2 separate regions of the Homo sapiens genome follow, and region 2 is linked to region 1. Evidence: promoter capture Hi-C in 16 types of primary human blood cells and fetal thymus (Javierre and others, 2016). All regions are on one chromosome and are shown on one strand. Each heading gives the region's core, a stretch centred on a gene start or on the middle of the fragment in contact. The rest is flanking DNA. Distances are from core to core; before and after follow the strand shown. Region 1 holds the start of RAD51D (RAD51 paralog D). Region 2 overlaps AP2B1 (adaptor related protein complex 2 subunit beta 1).

Region 1 (6,892 bases), core at 1-2,500:
CAACCAGGGCCTGCCAAAGGGCCCCAGACTGCTCAGCAACAAATTGCCCGTAGAAGCTGGCATCCCAGGGTGTCATTCACCCTACTTCTCAATATCTGAGAACCCTCTGCTCCCTTTGGCTTGGGATGGACTTTTGTTATTGTTGTTGTTTCAGACAGGGTCTCACTCTGTCGCCCAGATTGGAGTGCAGTAGCACGATCTCGGCTCACTGCAACCTCTGCCTCCCGGGCTCAAATGATTCTCCTTCCTCAGCCTCCCGAGTAGCTGGGATTGTAGGCGTGGGCCACCACACCCAGCTAATTTTTGTATTTTTAGTAGGGACAGGGTTTCACCATGTTGGCCTGGATGGTCTCGAACTCCTGACTTCTGACTCCAAGTGACCCACCCGCCTCGGCCTCCCAAAGTGCTGGGATTACAGGCATGAGCCACCGCGCCCAGCTGGCTTGGGATGGACTTTTTAAAAAGACACTCAGGTTTGGAATGTGGAGATCAGGAGCTCACCTTGTAAGACAAGCCACATTTCTGAGCTACCTCTTCCAGGTCTGCAGAAACCAGGTCCACCACTGAAAACAAAACACGTATAGCGGATTGGCAGAGAGGACTGGGGCCTCCCACACTTGGTTTTTCCTCATCTGTCAAATGGGGTGTCAATTCTACCCCCCGGCAGGCCGTCTCAGGAGGCCAGTGTGAAATAACAAAGCTGCAGGAGCCGGCGCGGTGCCCTGCACACAGTAGGAATCTCTACCCTGTTTTAGAGCTTGGCTCCCCACGCCCACCCTTCCTGAGCCTCTCCAGAAGCGCGGCCCTCTAGGAATGGAGGGGAAGCGCCCTGCAGGTATGCCAGGGCAGTGCGCCAGCCCTCGGGGCCTGCCCAGGTTGTGCGAGGCCCGCGCGGCTCCCTGGCACGCGCACACCCGGTCACCTGTCTTGATCCTGTGGCTCCTGAGAAGCTGGATCATCTCCTCGGTAAGGCCAGGGCACAGTCCGACCCTGAGCACGCCCATGTTCCCCGCAGGCCGGAACAGCCCCAGGGGGACTGCACGTCACGTGGGCATTCGCGGGGGGTCCTCTCCAGACGCCCCTCCCCTACCCCTTCCTAGAGAGGACACAGGCGCGCTGGCTGCCGGAGGAGAAAGGAGAGAGGAGGAGGCGGCACCAAGGGTAGGGCTGGGGGTCATCCGCCCGCCCGGGATCCGCCGGGATTCCCGCGCCCAGAGCCCGCCCGCCGGGTCGCGCCGCGCTGCCGCTTCCGGGTTCCAGGCTGGCGCGCGGCGAGGACCTGGCCTGCAGCGCCATCTGCGGGCCGCACGGGGCAGAGCCGCTGCGCCCCTCTCCACCGCCTGCACAGGTTCCCGAGTCCCACGACCCCCTCCGCGCTCAACACGCCACCCGCGGCCACATTCGGCCTCTACCTTCTGCCGCAACACACACACCGACCTTCTAAAGAGCCTTCTGTGCGCCAGCTTCCGTTCCAAACGGAACGGATCTCCGCTGGAGACAAAATGCGACACAAGACGACCCGCCCTTACCCCCAGGGAGCTTACTGTGAGCAAGGGAAAGACAGACAATGAAAAGGAATCGCAGAAATCACATCATTACAGATTATACGACAGGTGTCAAGAAGCAGCAAAGCATCCAGAGGGCACCTGCGTCTATTTTTCAAAAGTTTGTTTTGTTTTGGTTGAGACAGGGTCTCGATCGGCCGCCCAGGCTGGAGTGCCCTGGTGAGATCTCAGCTTTGCAGCCTCGACCTCCTGGGTTCAAGCGATCCTCCTGCCTCAGCCTCCTGAGTAGCTGGGACTACAGTCACGTGCCACCTTGCCCAGCTAATTTTTGTATTTTTTGTAGAGGTTTCGCCTCTACAAAATGGGGTTACACCATGTTGCCCACACAGGTCTCGAACTACTGGGCTCAAACAATCCTCCTGCCTTGGTCTCCCGAAGTGCGGGGATTACAGGTGTGAGCCACCGTGCCCGGCCTCTATTTTTTATTTTATTTTTTATTTTTTTTAAGGGCAAGAAACCTTGGTTATATAGAACACACACAAAAAGATATGATTTGGTATTTTTAAATGTCCTTTGCTTTGCCTCATCCATAGGAAGAAATAAAACTTTACATGGTTATCTCATCACAAATCTGTGAGGGAGGCGCTATTTTTTATCCCTGTTTCACCAATGAAGAAACTGAGGTTCAGTGAGGTTAAATCACTTGCCAAAGGTCACCCAGCTAGGCGGCACAGGGCTGGACTTCACATCCACATCTGACTCTGCAAAGCCAGTGCTTTCTAACAGCCCCCCTCCCCACCCCTGAAGCTGTGTACATGTTTTCCTACTGTAAGGTGGTTTCTCTGAGAGCAGAGATCATGTGTGGCCCATCTCTGTATCCCACTGCAACTGCCACCATTGTCACTCCACACAGGAAAGTACTTGGGAGTGTGGGTGTGGCACATTTAGAATTCTAGCAGTGAAGTCTGATCATATGTGAGCCATGAACCCCTATGAACCATGTGGGCTTTCCCTTTCACTAACCGACTGGGCACAGTGGAGTCTGCAGCCTATGGTTTCAGGATAGAGAGCCTTAGCTTCTACGGACAAAGTTTCCCTCCCCAGCAGACACTTTCCAATACTGCCTATCTCTCAGGGCCACACCACCATCCTCTACATCCCACGCCCATCTCTCACCATCCTTATTCTCCTTCCCAGGGCAGTGCGGAAGGACACAGGTGTCAGGCATTTTGAGATCTTCAGAGAAGGGCAGGGCTGCCATCACCATGGAGTATTAGAGCTGGAAGGGGCCCAAGGGCTCATGCAGTCTGTTCCTTGGTTTTACCCCTCTCATGATGCTGCTTCACAGTCACACTGGCCCTTGGTCTGGCCAGCCACATAGCTAGCCTGGCAGCAGTAGCCTCAAATCAAGGGGGGAGGCTGGCCTGTAATTGTTACACTCTGTGATGATTATGAAGTCAGCTCATTGCACCTGCAGACTGTCCAAACTAAAGGTGGGCCACTGCCCCCACAGTTTCTCTCTGCTTCTGGTCAGCTGGGTTGTCCTGCATGGTGACGGGTGTCATCCCGAACAAATCAGATGGCATCAGAGGCACTCCATCAAGTGGGAGATGGGGAGGAGGCTGTACTGAAGAAAGAAAACTTCAACATGATGAATGCCCTTGACCAACTGCCAAAACCCTTTTCAAACCCCAAGTCTATGAACCGGACCGTCACTACCAAAGGACTCCCACTAGCCTCAAAGGGCAATTTGGTCAACTTCTTGGAGGATGATACCATCAACCTACTGTAAGTCACAAATCTGGTCCCTCCCTCCCTCCCTCCCTCCCTCCCTTCCTTCCTCCCTTCCTTCCTCCCTTCCTTCCTTCCTTCCTTTTTTTTTTTTTTTTTGACAGGATCTTGCTTTGTCACCCAGGCTGGAGTGCAGTGGTGCAATCTCGGCTCACTGCAGCCTTGAATTCTTGAGCTCAAGTGATCTTCCCACCTCCACCTCCCAAGTAGCTGGGACTATTGACGCGCCACCACCACACCTGGCTAATTTTCATATATATATATATATATATATATATATATATATATATATATATATATATAAATTTTTTTTTTTGGTAGAAACGGGGTTTCACCGTGTTGCCCAGGCTGGTCTTGAACTTCCGGGCTCAAGCGATCCTCCCGCCTCAGCCTCCCACAGTGTTGGGATTATAGGCTTGAGCCACCATGCCTATAGTTTCTAAGAAAGGCTGGAGCCGAGGGCTGGGCAGAGAGACAAAGAATCTATACTTCCCTGACTTGTCACAACCCAGTTCCTTGACTCCCAGAGAAGAGCGTGTGGGCAGGTTGGATCTATTTATGTATTCCTGAGCCCCAAATCACTTCTTGGAGGCATATGGAGCTCCCACTCCAGGAGGCCTTCTTGGATTAGTCAGTTTGTTGACAGTGCTCCTTATCCTGCCTTGACTGGCTGTGGTCCTCACCATCACCAAATCCCTGACACACCCATGGCTCCTCTTCCTCAACCCTCTCTCTTTGGTACCTTCATCTACCTGACTGCTCCCCAGTAGCCTGCCTTCCTTCGGACTGGGTTTTGCTGTTCCTCCTCACCAAGTCTGGTTTTCCTCTACTTCATTCCACAAAACTCTTTGAGCACCTGCAAGGTGTCTGTCCCAGTGTTTAAGTTCTGGGAACGCAGAGCTGGAAAGCACAGTCCCTGCCTTTAAGGAGCTCCCAGTCTGGCATGTGGAGGTCAGGGGTGAAAGGATGGGGATCATGCAATAACCAGAATGATATAGCATGGTCTGGTAAGTGCCAGGACAGGATGCCTTGAGGGACCAGAGGGGCTTAGTATAGCTTGAGACTGGGTGCAGTTGAAGGAGGCTTCTTGGAGGAAGTGATATTTGAGCTGAGTCTCCAAGGAAGGAAAGGAGTTAGCCAGTGAAGGGGTGGTGGTACAGGGTGATGTGGGCTGAGGGAATTACTTGCAGGTCACCCACCACATGGGTGAATGACCTGTGCAGTCACAAATAGCCCTGCACTTACAAGGGGCCTGTGCTTAGTTTAATGCTTTTCTGTTACTATCTTCAAATTCAGAATTTTTGAATAAGGGGCTCAGGGTACTTCAATTTGCACTGGGCTCCACAGACTACATAGCTGGTCTTGAGTATGTGAGAGGGATGTGGTGTCCATTCCCCAAAGTGCCCGTAAGCAAGCAGGTATGGCTAAAGTGATGGATGCTCGTAGGAAACTTCATGGTATACTGGGAATCTTGGACTAGAAGCCCAAACTCAGATCCAAGTTCTGCCACTTAGAGATTTATGGTCTTAGACAACTTAATTAAGATCGGAGGCCAGATGGGGTAGCCCACGCCTGTAATCCCAGCACTTTGAGAGGCTGAGGCGGATGCATCACTTGAAGTCAGGAGTTTGAGACCAGCCTGGCCAACATGGTGAAACCTCGTCTCTACTAAAAATACAAAAATTAGCTGGATGTGGTGGCACGCACCTGTTGTCCCAGCTACTCAAGAGGCTGAGGCGGAAGAATCCTTTGAACCTGGGAGGTGGAGGTCGCAGTGAGCCAAGATTGTGCCACTGCACTCCAGCCAGGGGTCTGGGAGACAGAGCAAGGCTCCATAAAAAAAACAAAACAAAACAAAAAAAAAAACAGATCAGGGACCCTCAGCCCCTTGTTTGCCAAATGGGGCTAACATCCATCCAGCAGAGCTGTTGTGAACATCAGGAGGAGGAGATGTTCAGCATGTAGCCAGTGCCTAGCGGCCTTCTGTGCTTGCTTCAGTACCAGCATTTGCAGTAAGTGAATCTGAAATATTAATTCATTAGGACAATCTAAAGCACATATGACATTAATACCCAGACTCTTCAGTCTACAAAAGACCTTGGTGGGGGAATCATTTATTCCAAATGTCCACCAAGCGCTAGCATAGGGGATCTGGGCTAATCAGGATTTCTCAGGAGGAGGCTGATGAGGCTGGAACCTGGGGAGGAAAAACTTGGCCCGTTCATCAACCAAGACCTGGGAGGCTGGATGGGAGTAAGGGATCCACAAACTGTGGATTGTGACCTATTAATGGGTCAAGAAGTCCTTCTAGTTGGTGAAGACCACTATGATAAAAATAAACTGGCTGGGTGCAGTGGCTCACGCCTGTAATCCTAGCACTTTGGAAGGCCAAGGCGGGCAGACCACGAGGTCAAGAGATCGAGACCATCCTGGCCAACATGGTGAAACCCCTTCTCTACTAAAAATACAAAAATTAGCTGAACATGGTGGCCGCACCTGTAGTCCCAGCTACTCGGGAGGCTGAGGCAGGAGAATCACTCTCACCCAGGAGGCGGAGGTTGCAGTGAGCTGAGATCACGCCACTGCACTCCAGCCTGGCTGAGAGAGTGAGACTCCATCTCAAAAATAAATAAATAAATAAATAAAATAAACTATAATAGAATTGGAAATTCCAGAGCCCATTGCACACAGAGTAAGTGTTGGTCTGTGAAATGTTTGTCTTAGTTATAGGCGTATATATGCATGTACTAAGTTGCCATGGAAAGTGTATTTTACTTTGGGTAAAGGTAAAAAAAGATTTGAAAGCCAAACTTTTTGGCTTGGTGTTCTTCATCAGTTAAAAAAATATTGTTTTTTGTTTGGCTGGGGGCAGTGGCTCACGCCTGTAATCCCAGCACTTTGGGAGGCTGAGGCCGGCAAATCATCTGAGGTCAGGAGTTCGAGACCAGCCTAACCAACATGGTAAAACCCCATCTCTACTAAAAATACAAAAATTGGGCAGATGTGGCAGTGTGGGCCTGTAATCCCAGCTACTCGGGAGGCTGAGGCACGAGAATCGCTTAAGCCAGGGAGGCGGAGGTTGCAGTGAGTCGAAGTCACACCAGTGCACTCCAGCCTGGGCGACAGAGCGAGACTCCAGCTCAAAAAAAAAAAAAAAGAAAAAAGAGTAAAAACAGAAAAAAGAAATGTTAAGTGGTGGGGATCATGTACAAGGTTTTTCTTTGTAATAGCAAACATCTCATAACAATACAAATATCCATATAGGCCGGGCACAGTGGCTCATACCTATAATCCAAGCACTTTGGGAGGATCACTTGAGCCCAGGAGTTCGAAGTCAGCCTGGGCAACATGGCAAAACCCTGCATCTACAGAAAAACACAAAAATTAGCTAGACATGGTGATGTGCACCTGTAGTCCCAGCTACTCAGGAGGTGGAGGTGGACGGATGGCTTGAGCCTGGGAGTTTGTGCCACTGCACTCCAGCCTGGGCAGCAGAGGGAGACCCTGTCTCAAAAAACAAAAACAAAAACAAATATCCATGTAATGGAAAATCATAAAACAGTAAAAACGACTGAACCAGAGCTACATGTATCAAG
Region 2 (6,344 bases), core at 3,414-5,913, 490 kb after region 1:
CAAGATGTTTAGCAGTATTAAAAATGTATAAGGTACTTTGATAAAGCATTGTGGGGAAGATTTATTGCTAACTTCCCATAAAGTTACAGTTATCCTATATTGTAAAGATACAGCTTACACTTTAGAATCTGACAAGCTCAACCCTTCCAAGCTAATGGTGCTCCTTTAAATTTGTTTCCTGTGGCTTATAGGAGAATGGTAAATCATGAAATAACTAGAACTTAGGAAAGGTATAAACTCCTTTTATATTTGATTACTCTCAAATTTTCATTTGTCTGAATATGTAATGTTAAAAAAATAATTTCACTAAAAGGGAATCAGGACATCTTGGAGGATGACTGATTCTAGGTCTGGAATTAGAAATGTACAAAATGAGCCTGGATGGGGCATCTTGTCATAAAGGAAAGTATGGAAAATACCAGGTCATATCACAAGGATTCAGGAGCTCAGTTCCCACTGGTCAAGACTGGAAGAATATGAACTTTAAAAAGCGTAACTGAAGTGCTTTGAAACTGTAGTAGATGGATATGAAGAATTATTGTTCCTTTTGCCCTGTCGCACTCCTGAAAGCAAGATGATTCACCAGCAGCTCTACTGGAGCCACCCGCGAAAAGTCAGCCAGGGTTCTTGCTATTGTGTCTGCTGAAACTGGGCACAGTCTGATCTGGAAATTGAGCCTCGTTACATGCCACCAGTGTTTCCATCATACGTGAAGGATATAGATTTCATTAAGTTGGACTAAGTGATCTTCCACGAATGGATTATCTAAGGCACCCACCCAATGAGAGAAACCATGTTAGCTTTTTGTACATAAAATAAATATTTTAAAATAATTATTGTTATTTTTTATTTTTATTTTTGAGATGGGGTCTCTCTCTGTTCCTCAGGCTGGTGTGCAGTGGCATGTTCGTGGCTCACTGCAGCCTCCGCATCCCAGGCTCAAGTGATCCTCCCACCTCAGCTTCCTGAGTAGCTGGGACCACAGGCGCACACCACCATGCCTGGCTAATTTTTAAAATTATTTATAGAGACGAGGTCTCACTATGTTGCCCAGGCTGGTCTCACACTCCTAGGCTCAAGCAGTCCTCCCACCATGGCCTCGCAAAGTGCTTGGATTACAGACGTGAGCCACTGGGCCTGGCTTTTTTGTTTTTGTTTTTGTGTGTTTTTTTGAATGTGATAAAGGTAGTGGAAAAAAAAAAAGACACTTGCCTGTGCGTGGTGGCTCACATCTGTAATCCCAGAACTTTGGGAGGCCAAGGCAGGTGGATCACCTGAGGTCAGGAGTTCGGGACTAGCCTGGCTAACATGGTGAAACCCCATCTCTACTAAAAATATAAAAATTAGCCGGGAGTGGTGGCGCACGCCTGTAATCTCAGCTACTTAGGAGGCTGACACATTAGAATTGCTTGAACTGGGGAGGCAGTGGTTGCAGGAAGCAAAGATGGTGCCACTGAACTCCAGCCTGGGCGACAGAGTGAGACTCTGTCTCAAAAAGAAAAAAAAGGATTCTTAAGATACACATTAAAATATTATAGATGAAGCTGGGCACAGTGGCTTATGCATGTAATCCCAGCACTAGGATTAACATTTTTTCATAATAAAAAGCTTTTTCTAAAACTATAGAGACCTTGTTGAGAACAGCACTACAATTTTTTTCTTGTTTTTTTTGGATGGGGACAAGGTCTCACTCTGTCATCCAGGCTAGAGTGCAGTGACGTGATCATGGCTCACTGCAGTCTCGACCTCCTGCTTCAGCCTTCTGAGTAGCTAAGACTACAGGTGTGCACCACCACACCTAGCTTTTTAAAACAAATTTTTGTAGAGAGGATCTCGCCATGTTGTCCAGGCTGGCCTTGAACACCTGGTCTCAAGTGAATCCTTACACCCCAGCCTCCCAAAGTTCTGAGATTGCATACCTGAGCCACCATGTCTGGCCTACAGTTTCTTTTCTTTTCTTTTCTCTTTTCTTTTCTTTTTTTTTTTCCTTTTTTTTTTAGACACAGGAGTCTCGCTCTTGTTGCCCAGGCTGGAGTGCAATGGTGTGATCTCAGCTCACCGCAAACTCTGCCTCCCAGGTTCAAACGATTCTCCTGTCTCAGCCTCCTGAGTAGCTGGGATTACAGACATGCACCACCATGCCTGGCTAATTTTTTGTATTTTTAGTAGAGACGGGGTTTCTCCATGTTGGTCAGGCTAGTCTCAAACTCCCGACCTCAGGTGATCCGCCTGCCTTGGCCTCCCAGAGTGCTGGGATTATAGGCGTGAGCCACCGTGCCCAGCCAGTTTCTTTAGTAATTCATTTCTGTGACAGTTACCACTGTGGGGACATTTGTTCTTGCATCAAATCACTGTTAGTTAAGGCTATTCATGTTCTGTCCAACAGCTTGGCACCAACACCTGCTTACTTTCCTTTTCTCTTTTACCCTCTCTTCTCAGTTCTCTCTTTCCAGACGTAGTGAACTGTATGCAGACTGACAATCTGGAACTAAAGAAGCTTGTGTATCTCTACTTGATGAACTACGCCAAGAGTCAGCCAGACATGGCCATCATGGCTGTAAACAGCTTTGTGAAGGTAACTTTTCCCAAGGCCTCAATAACAGAGTTTGAATTGCAAATAAGTAACCTCTGTTCACAAGGAAGGAGTGTAGGGAAGTGTTGGCAATGACTAGGAATGTTCATGTTTTAAGCATTCTGTATACCAGTGTGTGTCATCCAGGGAAATTCAAACCATGTGCTGAGCTTTCTGTTAGTGGGGCTTGGTGCATCCTTGCCAGATGGGTAGAAGAAAACCTGGTGAAACCCCACTGTTTTACCTTCTGAGGCTGACAAAGGTGGGCATATCATTGTACTATCAGTAATTGGGGGCTTTACCTATTTTATCTTTGTAGAAATTATACTTATGAGTCAGCAGTAGTGGAGACTGCCGGAGTTTCTACTTTCATTTCATTTAATACGTCTTACATCATTTGATTAATTTTTTTTTTTTTTTGATACAGAGTCTCACTCTGTCACCGAGGCTGGAGTGCAGTGGCACGATCTTGGCTCACTGCAACCTCTGCCTCCCAGGTTCAAGTGATTCTCCTGCCTCAGTCTCCCAAGTAGCTGGGATTACAGGTGACCGTCACCATGCCCAGCTTATTTTTGTATTTTTAGTAGAGACAGGGTTTCACCATGTTGGTCAGGCTGATCTCGTGCTCCTAACTTCAAGTGATCCACCCACCTCAGCCTCACAAAGTGCTGGGGTTACGGACACAAGCCACCACTCCCGGCGTGATTAATTTTTTTTAATGGAAAATTTTAAACATATTCAAGAAAAAGGACTAGTATAATAAATTCCTAAATATCCGTCTTGCAGTTTTAACAGTTACCGACACATAACCACTCTTGTTTGTAATCCTCATACATATTTTCTGACCTCCAACCCCCTCTCCTGCTGGATAATTTTAAAGAAATCCTGAACATCATATATTAAATAGTTTTGTCTTTATATTTGTCAAGATAAGATCTTTTATTTAAACATAACCACAATATCATCATGTCTTTAAAAATGGACAAAATATTTTCTTATTATTGAATATCCAGTCAAATCTTTCCTATCATAGATTTAAAGAAAATAATAATGGGATCATTCCCATTAATTTTTTTTTTTTTTTGGTGACAGAATTTCACTCTTGTTGCCCGGGCTGGAGTGCAATGGCGCAATCTCAGCTCACCACAACCTCCGCCTCCCGGGCTCAAGTGATTCTCCTGCCTCATCCTCCCGAGTAGCTGGGATTACAGGCATGCACCACCACACCTGGCTAATTTTGTATATTTAGTAGAGATGGGGTTTCACCATATTGGCCAGGCTGGTCTCGAACTCCTGACCTCAGGTGATCCGCCCACCTTGGCCTCTCAAAGTGCTGGGATTACAGGCGTGAGCCACCATGTCCAGCCTAATATTTTTTTAATAGTTGTTTTTTCTCTGTTTGGAACTTAGTGTACATTTAAAAAAAACAGACAGCATTTCTAAAATTAGCTTCTATTTAAAATGTTTTGAAAAATAAGCAATATGCTTTCTTCTTTCTCATGAACTTTTTGTTCTTTTCCTGTGTTTAGCTACATTATAGAGTCAGAACGTAACAGTTTGTTCTCCATGACTGGTGGTTCATAGAGGGAATATATCATTGGGAAGAATTTAGTTTACATTTTTTGGAAGTTAGAGTTGTGCATAGATTTACATGGGCTTAAAGACATTTTTTTAGTGTAAGGCAGTTTAAAAGAGTGTTCTTTCTCCATATTCTATTTACTATATTTGGAAGCACTTGCTAGTAAAAGAGAATGTATGTTAGCCAAGAGCTCAGAGGGCCTTCTCTGCTGCTTAACTCCAGGTACTTATTTCAAGCCCAGACCAGCTCCTGTGCTCCCCTTTGTTTTCTTGGCTGCAGGCCACAGAAATCTAGCTCTCTTTTCTATTTGATGTTTAGGAACTCACTGTGGAGTAGGGCACGGTCTTTACAGCTCCTCTTTTTTTTTTTTTTTTTTTTCCTGTGCCGGAATACAAGCCCAAAAGCTTTTCCTGTTTTTAGGGTAGATCCTAATGGCTGTGGGATGGTACGAACTCCCTAAACCTCTGCCTGGCACTAGAGTGAATCCTGCTGAGCTGTTTCTCATTTTGTATTTAAAACAGTTAAATGACTTCTTCACCTAAACTCTTAAATAGGGCAGCTAAGATTTGTACTTAGGAAAGGAATAGCATGGAAGATTGGAGCTCATGTAGAATGTATCTGGAAGCTTAAATTAATGAGGTAATTCTTTTGCAGCTTACATAAACTGGACTGTTTACTTTTAGCCACCATGTATACCTACAGTTGTTGGTGATTGTTTTCTGCAGGACTGTGAAGATCCTAATCCTTTGATTCGAGCCTTGGCAGTCAGAACCATGGGGTGCATCCGGGTAGACAAAATTACAGAATATCTCTGTGAGCCGCTCCGCAAGTGCTTGAAGGATGAGGATCCCTATGTTCGGAAAACAGCAGCAGTCTGCGTGGCAAAACTCCATGATATCAATGCCCAAATGGTGGAAGATCAGGGATTTCTGGATTCTCTACGGGATCTCATAGCAGATTCAAATCCAATGGTAATAAGCTTCTGCTTTTACAAAGAGAGCAGTATTTAAAATGAGTCCCTTGTTAAAGCGTGTTTAATATGAACCTTGTCTTTGGAATACTGGGTTATGGGGTAGCTATGGGAAACATGACTTTGTGTGTCTCACAGATTGTATATTTCATATCCTAGGTGTTTTTGAGGTGAGAACCAAGTACTAAAATGCAGGGATCTTAAAGCAAATCTTTGTATTGTACTTATGCTCATATTTGCCCATATTGCCCATGATGAAAACTTTCATCATTTTCTTCAGGAGGTTTGGCCGTAAATTTATATATATTTAAGATTATTTTCTTCAGATCAATATTTGTGGTATTTTCTGGTGGTGTGGGACTAGAAACTGAATGAAAATGATCTTTATTACCTAATTATTATCATGCATTTCTCTATAGGGGAATTTCTAGGGCAAGATTATTTTTAGCCAACTTGGTTATGTTGTAAATGTTTAGCAGCCAGAACATAGCTTAACACCTTAAAGTTTTGGGACCTTTTCCTTATTGACATTTTAAACTTTGCTTATATAATGAAGAAGGTCAAGTCCCAAGTGATATGTTTGACTCCAGTAATAACTAAAGCTCATTTGAATTGGGTACTAATTGAATATATTGGATGGGTCATTAAATATTGTTGCCAGGAAGATGGAGGAAAATAGCCACTTTCTTTAAAGTGCTACCTTTTTGGTCTAATGCAATGTTTACTGAAAGGTGCATAACACTAAGAGTTAATCAGTGGATAACCTTTGAATATTCCCTTTTAAAAATTATTTATCTATCTATTTATTTATTTTTTACAGATAGGATCTTGCTCTGTGGCCAAGCTGGAGTGCAGTGGTGCAGTCATAGCTCACTGTAACTTTGAACTCCTGGGTTCAAGCACTCCTACCTCAGCCTCCTGAGCATCTAGGACTGCAGGCACATGCCACCACATCCCGCTAATTTTTTTTTTTTTTTTGAGACAGAGTCTTGCCTTGTCGCCCAGGCTGGAGTGCAGTGGCGTGATCTCAGCTCACTGCAAGCTCCGCCTTCCAGGTTCATGCCATTGTCCTGCCTCAGCCTTTTGAGTAGCTGGGACTACAGGCGCCTGCCACCACGCCTGGCTAATTTTTTGTATTTTTTAGTAGAGACGGGGCTTCACCGTGTTAGCCAGGATGGTCTTGATCTCCTGACCTCGTGATCCACCTGACATGGCCTCCCAAA

The links. The method cuts DNA at HindIII sites, captures the fragments that hold promoters and counts their contacts. A CHiCAGO score of 5 or more calls a contact.
Region 2: a contact is called between a fragment that was not itself captured here and the fragment with the promoter of RAD51D in region 1, in 2 of 17 cell types (total CD4 T cells and total CD8 T cells). The highest score is 7.2, in total CD4 T cells.

What each region holds. Positions count from the first base shown.
Region 1 is chr17:35,118,610-35,125,501 of GRCh38, forward strand. RAD51D (RAD51 paralog D) reads right to left here and starts at 1,251. Exons shown (of 10, transcript NM_002878.4): 1 at 923-1,251; 2 at 502-563; 3 at 1-10. The coding sequence starts at 1,004. It overlaps RAD51L3-RFFL (RAD51L3-RFFL readthrough), which reads right to left and starts at 2,913. Exons shown (of 7, transcript NR_037714.1): 1 at 2,682-2,913. It overlaps FNDC8 (fibronectin type III domain containing 8), which reads left to right and starts at 3,006. Exons shown (of 4, transcript NM_017559.4): 1 at 3,006-3,293. The coding sequence starts at 3,085. RefSeq lists a silencer at 1,114-1,313 and an enhancer at 1,524-1,583. The HindIII fragment of the contact is 14,701 bases long and covers 1-6,892 here.
Region 2 is chr17:35,603,266-35,609,609 of GRCh38, forward strand. AP2B1 (adaptor related protein complex 2 subunit beta 1) reads left to right here. Exons shown (of 22, transcript NM_001030006.2): 4 at 2,440-2,575; 5 at 4,877-5,122. Among named protein-coding and RNA genes, the nearest start is that of AP2B1, 19 kb to the left of the region's middle. The HindIII fragment of the contact is 221 bases long and covers 4,554-4,774 here.